Regions from separate parts of the Homo sapiens genome. Here region 2 is linked to region 1. Evidence: promoter capture Hi-C in 16 types of primary human blood cells and fetal thymus (Javierre and others, 2016). All regions are on one chromosome and are shown on one strand. The core of a region is centred on a gene start or on the middle of the fragment in contact, and the rest is flanking DNA. Distances in the headings are between cores, read along the strand shown. Region 1 holds the start of TUBGCP2 (tubulin gamma complex component 2). Region 2 overlaps CFAP46 (cilia and flagella associated protein 46).

Region 1 (7,072 bases), core at 2,275-4,774:
GACACACATGACCTTATCAATCATTGGAGATGACTCACACTCTTTACCCTGCCCCTTTTGCTTTGTATCCAATAAATAACAGCGCAGCCAGGCATTCGGGGCCACTACCGGTCTCTGCGTCTTGGTGGTAGTGGTTCCCCGGGCCCGCTGTCTTTTCTTTTATCTCTTTGTCTTGCGTCTTTATTTTTACAATCTCTCATCTCCGCACACGAGGAGAAAAACCCACCGACCCTGTGGGGCTGGTCCCTACAATAGAGTACAGAAGACTCAGCACATACTCCCACAATATGCTAATTCACTAACGATTATTAGCACGGGACTCGACACCGAGATTCTAATCCTGTGTGATGGAAGACAGTTTATCTGTAGATGAACATCAAATACTGGTCACAGGCAGGGTATCTCCGAAAATGGAAGGAGAGCGATAAGAAGGCATGGTGCTGAGTTGCTCACACACATGCTTTTGACCCAGGAGGTGCTCACGGTAACTACAGTTCAAGCACAAGGCCAGCAGGGCACGCGCCATGGAGCCCCATGCAGTCTGGACACTGACGTGGCTACTTCTAGGCTGTGGGACCCTGAACAAGGACACGTCCTCTCCAAGCTTCTTCTGAAAAGGGGAAGCCCTAGGTCCTGCGTAGAGCTGTGGTAGAGAGAAGTGAAATCACCCTGAGAAAGCACAGAAGGGCCCATACGTGGTAAGTTCTTACACTGTTGTTACCAGGAAAGCAGAAACAAACATGCGGCACCATTGCTCCCTGGAGGTGTTAACTCTGTTATCTGGGAAATGGTTAGGTTTACAAAAGGAAAATTGGGTCCCAATCACTGACAACATCTTAAACTACCAGATGCTTTTTTAACAGTCATGGGAGCCCTGGACGAGGCCCTGCAAACTACTTGTGAAGCAGAAAAGACAGCCCAAACTTTCCGGCCAGCGGCCCCTTCAAATCCAAGGGTGGCCTGTTTCACCCACATTCTACTCGGCTCCCCGAGGACTGCAGGTTGTCCTATAACTGCTGGTCTGAGAAACACTTTGGTCATGCTAGGTGGCAAGAAAACCATTTGCCACCAAAACAAAGCACTCCCCCACCAGACACAAGTCAGGAGAGAAAGCTACCTATGAAGAAAAATCATCTGAGTATTTATTTAAAAACTACATGCTGGGCACGGTGGCTCACGCCTGTAATCTCAGCACTTTGGGAAGCCAAGGTGGGCGGATCATGAGGTCAGGAGATCGAGACCATCCTGGCTAACATGGTGAAACCCCATCTCTACTAAAAATACAAAAAAATTAGCCGGGGGTGGTGGCGGGCGCTTGTAGTCGCAGATACTCCAGAGGCTGGGGCAGGAGAATGGCATGAACCCGAGAGGCGGAGCTTGCAGTGAGCCAAGATCACACCACTGCATTCCAGCCTGGGCAACAGAGCGAGACTCTGTCTCAAAAAATAATAATAAAAAAAATAAAAACTACCTTCAGGAAACTTCGTATCTCTTCTAGAAATAGAAGCACAGATGCCCGCACGTCATGAGTGTTCATCCCATGAGGAGCCTGCTGCTCTCCCTGAATGTGGGGACCGGGCCTCCAAGAGGGCAGCCCGTACTCGCACAGAGTCCCTCCCCCCAGAAGACCTTTGGAAAAGTCCTAGGGCAACTCTGGGGTGTCACGGTCATGGAAGGGTGCTCTCGCTACTTAGAGGGCAAGGGCGGGGGATGCTAATCATCAACAGAGCTGTCCCGCCAGAAATGCACAGCGTCCCACTGAAAACACAGCTCTGAGGAACATCTAGCCGTGGCTGCTTCTTGGAGGAACGTCTAGCCATGGCCGCTGACTTGGCCTTCTTGATGCTCCTGAATTCTTACTATTAATCACACAAACTGACAGGCCCAGCAACTGTGACTGGGAGGGACTGACGTCCTCCTCACAGAGGCTGTGAGCTACCGCAGGGACGCGTGCTGAGGGAAGCAATGCACGCATGTCACACTCCACCACGGACAAGCGGGGCACACACTCCTAGTGAGCACACACTCCAAGTGATTAAAACACAGAGGGACGTGAAAAAGAGTCTCTGTTGAGAGCTCAAAGCTAACTGTACAAATTGGTTTGAAAAATGTTATTTTACAACTTGTGGAAAATGTCAAGAGCCCAAAGGCTTTTACAGAGACAGAAAGTACAGTCATGCATCACTCAACATTCTGAGAAATGCCTGGCCAACATGGTGAAAACCAGTCTCTACCAAAAATACAAAAATTGGCCAAGCCTGGTGGCGCACACTTGTAATCCCAGCTACTTGGGAAGCTGAGGCACGAGAATCGCTTGAACCCAGCAGGCAGAGGTTGCAGTGAGCCCAGATCGCGCCACTGCACTCCAGCCTGAGCGACAGAGAGAGACACTATCTCCAAAAGAAAAAAAGAGAAACGTATGGTTACATGATTTCCTTCTGTGCGATCATCAGAGTCACTCGCAGACCTGGATGGTGTACGGCCTACAATGCACCTAAACCACCTAGAGGAGCCTCTTGCTCGTGGGCTACAAACCTGCCCAGCAGGTGGCGGTGCTGAACACTAGACAACTGTAACACAGAGATATTTGTGTATCTAAACATGGAAAAAGTACAGGGGCAGGCATGGTGGCTCACGCCTGCAGTTACAGCTCTTTGGAACGCTGAGGCAGCAGGACCACTTGAGCCCAAGAATTTGAGGCCGCAGCGATCTATCAGCTATGATCGCACCATTGCACTCCAGCCTGGGTGACAGACGAGAAAGCTAAAGCCTCTATCCGCCACTGGGCCCATTCTCTGCAGTAGATCTGAAGCGTCCACTGCTTCCCGCGTGTGTTGTCATTCACCATTTTAATTAGGTGACTCTTTACTCTGACGTCTGTCTCTCCTACAAGGCTGCCGCGCCCTCCTGTGATGCCTTCCCCCACACGCCCTGAGCACCTAGCACAGGTCCTGTGTTTCACGGGAGCTGCGGGGACTGGAGAGGTCGACAGGACCCCGACAAACCAGGAAAGGGCCTTTGAACTAAAGTAACGGGAAGTCACCCAAGGGCTTTAAATTAAAAACGGTTACAATAAAACTGGAGTCACTTTGGCTCCAGTTCGCGACTGGTTTAGAGGGAACAAGATCCAGGGACTGCAGCGGGAGACGACAGGCGGGGCAAGGCGGACGGGAGAGGGCGTGCGAGAGGGGGACCTGCGACCCGGCTTCCCAGGGCTGGGAGGGGACACCCGGGACGACCCGGAGGCCCGCTCCGCCCCGCCCCGGCTGAGTGTCGGGCCGCGGGGCAAGACGCTGGCCTGGCCGGTGCAGGCCCGAAGGGCTTCGGCCCCAGAGTTCGGGGACCGCTGCACAGCCAGAGGGAGCGCGCGGGAAGAGCCGCGTCCCGCCAGCCCCGTCGCCTCGTGGGCCCCCCCGGGCCTGGCAGTCCCCCAACCCCCTCATCACGCCCGCGCCCGCGTTCGGCCAGGACTCACCGCAGTCCCGGAGCCACAGCCCCCGCGCAGCCCCCGACGGCGGCGGAAGTGAGCGTGACGTCACGTCCGGCTCGGCTCGCGGACGGTGGCCGACAGGCTGCGCCCGCCCGCGCCCGGGGTGATGCAGTTGCCCCCCGCGCTGTGCGCCCGCCTCGCTGCGGGGCCCGGGGCGGCGGAGCCGCTGCCTGTAGAGCGGGATCCCGCGGCTGGGGCCGCGCCCTTTCGCTTCGTTGCGCGCCCCGTGCGCTTCCCGCGGGAGCACCAGTTCTTCGAGGTGCGTGAGCAAAAGAGGGAAAAAGTAGTTGTAGGATCCAGTGGGGCCTACGGCGGCGAGGCGGGGCCGGAGCCTGGAGTGGGAGGGGCCTACGACTGCGGGGCGGGGCCGGAGCCTGGGACAGGCGGGACCTGAGGTGGTGGGGCGGGGCCGGAACGTGGAGTGGGCGGGGCCTGAGGCTGTGGGGCGGGACCGGAGCGCGGGATGACTGGGGCCACGGGTGTGGGCGAGGCCTGACGCGGTGGGCGTGCCGCGAGTCACCTGGCCCCGCCCACGGCGCACTTTTCCTGCAGGATGGGGACGTGCAGCGCCACCTCTACCTCCAGGACGTGATCATGCAGGTGGCCGACGTGCCTGAGAAGCCCAGGTAAGCGAATGGGCAGTGCCTAGCCAGTGCTACTCCTGCGCCGCCTCCCTGACCGGTGCCTGGTCCCTGGGGCTGTGCTGCCGCTCTTCCATGTGCGGCCGCCCCACCGAGGCGCTGTGCCTGTCCAGCTTTGGCGTGGCCGACTCTTCCACCACCTAGCCTGTTTGTGAAACTTAATTCATAAAAAGAGGGTTTGGGATTGCAAAAGATGCATAGGGGCTTTATTGGACGTCTCAAAGGGAAACTGTGCAGAAAGTCCAGCTTGGTTCCTCGCACCGGAGGAAGGGCTCCTGAAGCACGTCTCCTTGGCAGGGTGCCCGCGTTTGCCTGCCAGGTGGCCGGCTGCTGCCAGGTGTTCGATGCCCTGGACGACTACGAGCACCACTACCACACGCTGCACGGAAATGTTTGCTCCTTTTGCAAGCGGGCCTTCCCTTCCGGACACCTGCTGGACGCCCACATCCTGGAGTGGCACGATTCGCTCTTCCAGATCCTGTCTGAGAGGCAGGACATGGTGGGTGACAACTGCACAGCCGCCGAGGCCACCCCCCATTGGTGATGGGCTCAGAGTGCTGCCCCCAGCTCTCGGGTGCTCGGGCAAGGCCGGGGACACCTTTCCGCCCTTGGCAGCTCTGCTACGGGGGCATGGCGGTGGGGGAGGGCCAGGGGTCAGAGGGAGGTGACACGGTCTCCATTTCAGTATCAGTGCTTGGTAGAAGGCTGCACAGAGAAGTTCAAGACCAGCAGAGACCGGAAGGATCACATGGTGAGGATGCACCTGTACCCCGCGGACTTCCGGTTTGATAAGCCAAAGAAAAGCAGAAGGTAGGGAGCCGCCAGGCTCAGCACGTGTCTGCTTTTGATTTTAGGAAAAGGTTTCCAACTAGCCGGAATGCATAGACGGTCAGACTTATTAAGCACTTGTGTGTCACCTAATGGGGTGTTCACCTGCAGGTACCTGAAGCCCTGGCAACACAGCTACAGGTGGTTGTGCCAGCGGCCACCCTGCCGAAGGGAGGCTGGAGGGGAGCCCCTGGCTGCCCAGCTCTGTGCCGGTGGAGGCAGCAGAGGGGGTGTGGGAATGAGCGGGCGCAGCGCCTCCGCACTCACACCCCTCTGGGCCATGCCTGTACCTCCTGCAGCAGTCGGCCGTGGTCATCCGCACTCACACCCCTCGGGGCCGTGTCTGTACCTCCTGCAGCCGTCGGCCGTGCTCACACATCATGCAGCCCTGGCTTTCCTTTTGTCCTGGTTGGTTGTGCGCATATGAACTTGATGACAAAGCTGTTGATTAACATGTTCCTGCCTAGAGTGCACTCTGGGAAATACTTCCAGGAACAATCTTTTTTTTTTTTTGAGACAGGGTCTTGCTCTGACACCCAGGCTGGAGTGTAGTGGTGTGATGTAGGTTCACTGCAACCTCCACTTCTCAGGCTCAAGCGATTCTCCCACTTCAGCCTCCTAAAGTGCTAGGACTACCAACACGCATCGCCGCACTCGGCAAAATTTTCTATTTTTTGTAGAGACAGGGTCTTGCTATGTTGCCCAGTCTGGTCGTGAACTCCTGGGCTCAAGCCGTCCATCTGCCTCAGCCTCCCAAAGTGCTGAGATTGTAGGTATGAGCTACCATGTCCAGCCGGAACAATTTTTAAATTGTGTTATATTTCTTCTTTTTTTAACTGATGAGGTGAACTTTCATAATCATCTACAATTTTATTGATCAGAGTTTTTCAGACTCTACATTTTCTCAAGTAGTAATTTGCTCTTTAAAATAAAAGAACTGGGAGAACCCACTGCAATGTGGGAGGCTTTACAAAGACTTACGTGTAAAGTAATTGTCTCCTTTCCGAGGGATCATTTTAAGGAGAAAAACCGTGCAATGCTGGATTAAGACATTCGTATTATGGAAGAGACTAGTTTATAGTCTCTGGTTAACTTTAGCAAATTTCTCACACTCATAAAAAGACCCGTGGCACCGTTGGCACCATAAAAATACTATTTTCAAAAAAAAGTATGATTGTTACAGTTAAGTTTATAAGATGCAGACTCTATTATATAAACAATGGCCTTGCTGTAATCATTCTCCTTTTCCCAGTATCTTAAACCACACTATAAAATCAGACTATGCCAAAATAGTAAGAAAATATGCTACTTACAGGGAAATCCAGTTTCTTTCTTGCATGTTCATTTCTGGGGAACACAGGGGCTGTGGGAGCCGTGCAGGGCAGTTACTCACTGCTCTCTCCCCGCAGCCCAGCCTCAGCAGAAGCCCCAGGGGACAGTGGAGAGCGGTCAGAAGGGGAGGCCATGGAAATCTGCTCTGAGCCTGTGGCAGCCTCCCCTGCACCGGCAGGTGAGAGGCGGATCTACAGACATAGGTCAGTGTCTGAGCTCTTTCTGAAACCCGTTCTCAACATGTGTTCGGTGCTGAGGATTCTGGGCTGCACCTGGGCCGCAGCTCTTCTCATACTGAATTCAGAAAGGTAACGCTGGGTAAGAAAATCGGCTTCCGCCAGAGAAGAAAGTCCAGATATCTCAGGTCCTGTGAATAACTTAGTTTCTCTCGCATACTCTGTTTTTGAGCCATTGAAGCGCAGGAATGCCAAGCACCACTCACTTTTCCTCATTGTCTGAGTGGGATGGAAAGAGTCTCACTTGCAGTTGCTTCAGTCACAACCCAGGCGTCTGCCTTAATAGCATCACCTGTGCCGTCTGCGTTTCTAGCGTCACCTGTGCCGTCTGCGTTTCTAGCGTCACCTGTGCCGTCTGCCTTCCTAGCATGACCTGTGCCGTCTGCCTTTCTAGCATGACCTGTACTGTCTGCCTTTCTAGCGTCACCTGTGCCGTCTGCCTTTCTAGTTAAAGTTGATTTTAAATTAATTTGGGAAAAACGGTGAACAAGTGGGGAAAAACATCACCAAAGACTCCAAACAGGTGGAACGATGAACTTAATGTT
Region 2 (7,072 bases), core at 1,913-4,412, 380 kb before region 1:
GGGCATCAAACACAGGAGCCTCCCACGCTGCTCCCATCCTCCGTGCGGCATGGGCTGCTGTTTCCAGCCTTGACCACGCTTCCCACCTGCACCCTGGTGGGCGGTCCCTCCAAGGGCTGCCTGGCTGTCAAGGCCACGTGAACTGCATCTCCTATTCTGAAACCATTTCCAGATCAGCACAGCCCTCAGCGTGACTGGACGGCTCCCCCCGTGCTGAGCCATGGCCGTGTCTCCTGCGCCACTGATGGTTGGTTTACGTTCACTCTTAGGTAACCTGGGCAAAGCACACAGCAAGTGCTCAATGAAGACAGCACACAGGGAGGCCCCAGCATGTGGCTGTGCATCCGAGGGTCCCCCTTCTTCACTCTCTGTGTGTAAAGCGACACTCAGTTTGCTCAAAACCATCCCTGATAAACTGATCACATTTTCCCTGCTCTGTGGAAGAGCCTGTCACAGTTCCTGAAAGCATCGGCAAACCTGATGTATGCAGTCTTACACACTTGTCGTTGTGTGAAGCTTCTTCTGGAGGGCAATACTCTAACGTGTATTCTTAAAATATTAAAAGTGAAAATTCCCTAGTCATTTCATGTAAATATACTCATCTTAGGGAAAAATCCTAAACGCAGAAAAATGTTTTAGGCACAAAATGTTCACTGCAGCCCTTTATGTAATAAGCAAAAAATTATACGGTAGCCCCCCCTTCTCTGAGAGGATACGTTTCAAGACCCCCCAACCCAGTGGAGGCCTGAAACGTGGAGTAGTCCGAAACCCGATTATACTGTGATTTTTCTAGACGGAAATCCCTACGATAAACTTCAATTTCTAAATTAGGCACAATAAGATATTTATAACAATAACTAATAATAAGATACAATCATAACACTATACTGTAACAGAAGTGATGTGGCTGTGGCCTCTCCCTCAGAATAGCTTAATATTTTCATACTGTAGCTGTCTGCAGGTAACAAACTGCAGAAAGTGAACTGCGGGTAACGAGGCACTGCCGGTGTGATTTACACGTCCAATAATGGGACTGGTGGAGGATGTTCTGGATCATCAGCATCATGAAATTTTACGCCGTCCGTAAATTGGACTCTAGAAACAACTGTGGTGCTGTGGACCCGTGGCCACAAGAAAGGTAAAGAGAAACGGGCAGGTGTAAAATTGCAAACACCATCTAACTGCAACTGTGCAAAACACAGGTAGGAAAGACGGCAATGTGCCAACCACGGACCGAAGCCCTGGGGGCCGTGGCCTGGTGAACTGCTCTTCCTTTCTTTGCCTTTTGTCCAACTGCACGGTGAGCAGCGCCTCATCCCCAGGCAGCAGTGTCATGAAGCCACTTACTTTGCTTTCCATCTTCTTCAGGTCTGAGAGGCAGGCAGAGGAGATCTCCATGCATTTCAAGGTCAAGGAAAAACGCGCCAATTCAAAAAGCAAAAGCATTCTGCAAACAAACAAACCAGCCAGCACCGGCTCAATAGGGGGCACAGGAAACATGGCTGCAGGCGAGAATCCATGTCCCCCGTTCAAGCAGAAGCAGGAAATAAAGGTAGGATAAGAAATAAATAAAATTAAGTTAATTAGAACAGAAGCCCTGTGGGGAGGCCCCAGCAGGGCTTCAAGCTACAGCACCGGAGCCCAGCAGTCTCCCGGGGCCAGCACAGTTGTGGAGGCTGCCCAGGGCCACGTCCCTACTGGACACCCTGCTCCTCGCTCTCCAGGCTTCAGGTCATGTGCAGAACCCAGGAGAAGCACAGGGATGACGACATGCGTACTCAAAGCCATTGCATTGCACAGCAGCTCAGACCCACATCTGCAGCTCAGCGAGGCCAGAGGCCATGCAGGGAAGAGGCAGGTTCCTCTTCACACAGAGCCCGAACCTTCCTCCTCCCCACACAGAGCATGGGACTCCCCACACTCCCCACACAGAGCCCGAACCTTCCTCCTCCCCACACAGAGCATGGGACTCCCCACACTCCCCACACAGAGCCTGGGCCTTCCTCCTCCCCATACAGAGCCTGGGCCTTCCCTACACTCTCCACACAGAGCCTGAGCCTTCCTTCTTCCCACACAGAGCCTGGGACTTCCCCACACTCTCCACACAGAGCCTGGGCCTTCCCCATACTCCCCACACAGAGCCTGGGCCTTCCTCCTCCCCACACAGAGCCTGGGCCTTCCCCACACTCCGCACACAGAGCCTGGGCCTTCCTCCTCCACAAACAAAACCTGGGCCTCCCCACACTCCCCACACAGAGCCTGGGCCTCCCTCCTCTCCACACAGAGCCTGGGCCTCCCCACACTCCCCACGCAGAGCCTGGGCCTTCCCCACACTCCCCACGCAGAGCCTGGACCTTCCTCCTCGCCACACAGAGCCTGGGCCTTCCTCCTCCCCACACAGAGCCTGGGCCTTCCCCACACTCCCCACACAGAGCCTGGGCCTTCCCCACACTCCCCACGCAGAGCCTGGGCCTTCCCCACACTCCTCACACAGAGCCTGGGCCTTCCCCACACTCCCCACGCAGAGCCTGGGCCTTCCCCACACTCCTCACACAGAGCCTGGGCCTTCCCCACACAGAGGCTAGGCCTCCCCACACTTCTCACACAGAGCCTGGGCCTCCCTACACTCCCCACACAGAGCCTGGGCCTTCCTCCTCCACAAACAAAACCTGGGCCTCCCCACACTCCCCACACAGAGCCTGGGCCTCCCTCCTCTCCACACAGAGCCTGGGCCTCCCCACACTCCCCACGCAGAGCCTGGGCCTTCCCCACACTCCCCACGCAGAGCCTGGACCTTCCTCCTCGCCACACAGAGCCTGGGCCTTCCTCCTCCCCACACAGAGCCTGGGCCTTCCCCACACTCCCCACACAGAGCCTGGGCCTTCCCCACACTCCCCACGCAGAGCCTGGGCCTTCCCCACACTCCCCACGCAGAGCCTGGGCCTTCCCCACACTCCTCACGCAGAGCCTGGGCCTTCCCCACACTCCCCACGCAGAGCCTGGGCTTTCCTCCTCCCCACACAGAGCCTGGGCCTTCCTCCTCCCCAAAAAGAGCCTGGGCCTCCCCACACTCTCCACTCAGAGACTGGGCCTTCCCCACATTCCTCACACAGAGCCTGGGCCTTCCTCCTCTCTACACAGAGCCTGGGCCTCCCCACCCTCCCCACACAGAGGCTAGGCCTCCCAATACTTCTCACACAGAGCCTGGGCCTTCCTCCTCCCCACACAGAGCCTGGGCCTTCCCCATACAGAGGCTAGGCCTCCCCACACTTTTCACACAGAGCCTGGGCCTCCCTACACTCCCCACACAGAGCCTGGGCCTTCTTCCTCCCCACACAGAGCCTGGGCCTCCCTCCTCTCCACACAGAGCCTGGGCCTCCCCACACTCCCCACGCAGAGCCTGGGCCTTCCTCCTTGCCACACAGAGCCTGGACCTTCCTCCTCCCCACACAGAGCCTGGGCCTTCCTCTTCCCCACACAGAGCCTGGGCCTCCTTACACTCCCCACACAGAGCCTGGGCCTTCCCCACATTCCCCACATAGAGCCTGGGCTTTCCTCCTCCCCACGCAGAGGCTGGGCCTTCCTCCTCCACACACAGAGGCTGGGCCTTCCTTGTCGCCACACAGAGCCTGGGCCTCCCCACACTCCCCACACAGAGGCTGGGCCTCCCCAGACTTCTCACACAAAGCCTGGGCCTTCCTGCTCCCCACACAGAGCCTGGACCTTCATCCTCCCCACACAGAGCCTGGGCCTTCCTCCTCCCCACACAGAGCCTGGGCCTTCCCCACACAGAGGCTAGGCCTCCCCACACTTCTCACACAGAGCCTAGGCCTCCTCACACTTCTCACACAGAGCCTGGGTCTCCCTACACTCCCCACACAGAGCCTGGGCCTTCCTCCTCCCCACACAGAGCCTGGGCCTCCCTCCTCTCCACACAGAGCCTGGGCCTCCCTCCTCTCCACACAGAGCCTGGGCCTCCCCACATTCCCCACATAGAGCCTGGGCTTTCCTCCTCCCCACGCAGAGGCTGGGCCTTCCTCCTCCACACACAGAGGCTGGGCCTTCCTTGTCGCCACACAGAGCCTGGGCCTCCCCACACTCCTCACACAGAGCCTAGGCCTTCCACCTCTTCACACAGAGGCTGAACCTTCCCAACACTCCTGACACAGGGCCTGGGTCTTCCCACGCTCCCCATACAGAGCCTGGGCCTTCTTCCTCCCCACATAGATCCTGCAGCTTCCTCCTCCCCACACAGAGCCTGGGCTTCCCCACGCTCCCCACACAGAGCCTGGGCCTTCCTACCATGCGACAAGCCCGTAGGCGTGCCGCCAACCGCACCTGCAGTCACCAATCAGGGTCTTTGCAGAAACTGACAGGCTGAGGCTAAAATTTGTATCCACATGCAAGGACCCACAGTGCTCCAGACAACTTCAAGAAAGAGCACAGCGGGTGCTCTCAGCTCTCCACTCTAAGGCTTCCTGTTGAGCTGCAGGGATCAGGATCACGCTCCTCCGGTGGAGATTAGGCCAGGGTTTCCCTCCGGGACGCCTCTCTTCCAGGAGGAGCCTGTCCATTGTGTCCCTGCAGCTGCCCGCTAGATGAAGAGCAGCCGCCCACAGTGTCTCCAGACATTGCCAAATGTCCTTGGGGAGCAGGTCTACATGTCTTCTGCTGTTTCCCGGGGAGTAATCACAGTCTTACCGGGAACACAATTGGCGGCTGCTGGCAGCGACTCAACTCGGCCCTCAGTGTGGTGTGACCATCCTCCCTGCATCCCTGGGTAGCTGTGGGCAGGAGGCTGCTTTGGGGTGGGGTGCGGACGCTTCTCCGCCCCTCGTCCCTGCCCACCTCCTCCTCCCCCTGCTCTGCTGTTGGGCCCTCTCAGGTCCTGGCAGGCCTGGCATCACAACACTGGCCTCTCCGTCCTACCTGAGCTCCAGCGCACAGGCCTGCTGGGCAGGTCGGGAAGAGAGAATCCGTAAAAGTGCCTGAGAATGCCGCCTGTGGACAGACCTCGGAACAGGGCTATTTACACTGGTCCCAAGACCTCTCGTCGGAGCGCCTGGCCACAGAAGGGGATGCTCGGCCAGGGCCACGGCCACGCTTGGCCGGACTTCAGTTAGAACAACCTGGAGGGTCTGATGGAAGACGTAAACTCCTTCCAGAACAATATATCCACACACATCCCCATGTACACATGCACTCATACCCCTCCCAAAAACAGACCCACCAGCAGGCTGGCCCTGTGCCCCTGCGGCCCAGGCTGTGGCCCAGCAGCCACCCTGCGGTCCTGGGGCCCCTCCCTCGAGGAGCCTGCAGCTGAGCAGCGGAGACCTCAATGTTGGGCAGGTGCCACCTCCCTGATGAGACCACGAACGTGCTGGCGTCTGGCGCCCCTCGCTAGCACTGATGAAGCAAGCTGTCCCACCAGGACCGAGGCCTGAACCCACAGGAACCGAGTCCTCTCAACACCCCTGTGAGCTTGGGGGACCCCTTCCCCAGTCCAGCCTCGAGAAAAGACCCCAGACCAGTCAACACTGTGGCTGCTGCTGTGCCCAGGTTCCCGTCCCACAGACACAGGGAGGTCATGGATCTGTGCCCAGGTTCCCATCCCGCAGACACAGCGAGGTCATGGACCTGTGCCCGGGTACCTGAACCGCAGACACGGTGAGGTCATGGACCTGTGTTGTTTCAAGCTCCTAAGTTTGTGGGTACTTGTTACGCAGCTGCAGATAACTAATACACCTTCTCTGTTAGTTTCCCATGGCCACCAGAAAACCAAACAGATAATTTCAGCCTCCCATATCAACAAGCTTTACTTGTTTCCCATTTTCTTAAAAATATACACAGTGCTACTAAGGAGGTGACAAAATCGCTCCAGGGGCAGGGGACAAACCCCCCCACCCACCCCGTGCCCACGAAGGCAAAACCAGCCAGTGCTTTCCATGTGCTTCTGAAAGCCTCGGGCTCAGCTTCCTGCTTCCAGGATACCAGCCCAGGACTTATCCCAAACTCTCAACAGTGCCTGGAGGATTCGAGAAAGCACAGAATCCAAACAAACCAGCCTGAAAAAGGCTCCAGAGAAACCTGTGTTTTCCCACCCATGGAACGCCACGCAGCCACCAGAACCGTGAGAGGTGCCACAGTGACCTAACCATCCATATGCCTACAAACTAAACTCATGTTAAAAAGTAGGGTATGAAAGTATTCGCAAGACAGTACAAATCTCAGGCCACAAAAGACCAGACAGGACCTTACTAAAACCTCCACAATGGCTGGCTTTTGCAAAGGTGGTTCTAGTTGCTTGTTTTACATTTTTTCACATTTTTCAGTGCCTGCTAAATTTTGTACAACGATTATGAAGATGTGATATTGGAAAAATACAAACACTTACTTTTCTTCACTGATAGAGGGAAAGCGCTGGTGGTTGTAATGACCTAAGTGTCTGTAGGCCTTCCTCAGAATGACACTGATGTCACCTGGTAAATCATTTTGCTCCGCTTTTCTAGAAATAATTCAGAGAGTAATTCAGCACAAGATCCTGTCAGATTTATTCAAATTCTTCTAAGAGAAACTCTGCGTGTATGAAATTGTGTTTCTCACTGAAGAGGAGACTGAAAATAACCCCTCCTGCCTTCTTTCCTCAAATTCCTGAGATGACTTTTCACCCCTTCTGGTCCTCCTTCCCTCCATGATGCCCGGCCTTCCTACAAGGCTGGAATAGAAACACTCAGAGGGCCCAGACCCCTCGCCAGAGTCAGCACCCCACATAGGAGCCAAACACGGGAAATGTGGGGCACTCTCTCTGCTCAACGGCGATAGGACCTGGGCCAGCATTGCTCTCTCCCAGGGATGCTGCCCATAGGACACAAATACCTCAGATCTCCTCACTCCCCTTGGTATCCAAACCCACTGTGATCTCCTCACTCCCCTGAGCACCCAAACACACTGCGATCTTCTCATTCCCCTCAGCACCCAAACCCACTGTGATCTCCTCACTCCCCTTGGCACCCAAACACACTGTGATCTCCTCACTCCCCTCAGCACCCAAACACACTGAGATCTTCTCATT

Evidence for each region. The method cuts DNA at HindIII sites, captures the fragments that hold promoters and counts their contacts. A CHiCAGO score of 5 or more calls a contact.
Region 2: a contact is called between a fragment that was not itself captured here and the fragment with the promoter of TUBGCP2 in region 1, in 1 of 17 cell types (M2 macrophages). The highest score is 5.0, in M2 macrophages.

Annotation. Positions count from the first base shown.
Region 1 is chr10:133,305,348-133,312,419 of GRCh38, forward strand. It overlaps TUBGCP2 (tubulin gamma complex component 2), which reads right to left and starts at 3,525. Exons shown (of 18, transcript NM_006659.4): 1 at 3,476-3,525. ZNF511-PRAP1 (ZNF511-PRAP1 readthrough) reads left to right here and starts at 3,567. Exons shown (of 9, transcript NM_001396060.1): 1 at 3,567-3,749; 2 at 4,043-4,116; 3 at 4,429-4,630; 4 at 4,817-4,941; 5 at 6,369-6,494. The coding sequence starts at 3,597. ZNF511 (zinc finger protein 511) reads left to right here and starts at 3,567. Exons shown (of 6, transcript NM_145806.4): 1 at 3,567-3,749; 2 at 4,043-4,116; 3 at 4,429-4,630; 4 at 4,817-4,941; 5 at 6,369-6,494. The coding sequence starts at 3,597. RefSeq lists enhancers at 2,702-2,931, 3,655-4,350, 3,758-4,052 and a silencer at 3,162-4,011. The HindIII fragment of the contact is 14,798 bases long and covers 603-7,072 here.
Region 2 is chr10:132,928,358-132,935,429 of GRCh38, forward strand. CFAP46 (cilia and flagella associated protein 46) reads right to left here. Exons shown (of 58, transcript NM_001200049.3): 8 at 6,395-6,505; 9 at 1,348-1,447. Among named protein-coding and RNA genes, the nearest start is that of CFAP46, 11 kb to the right of the region's middle. RefSeq lists enhancers at 1,997-2,116, 3,576-3,645. The HindIII fragment of the contact is 5,297 bases long and covers 515-5,811 here.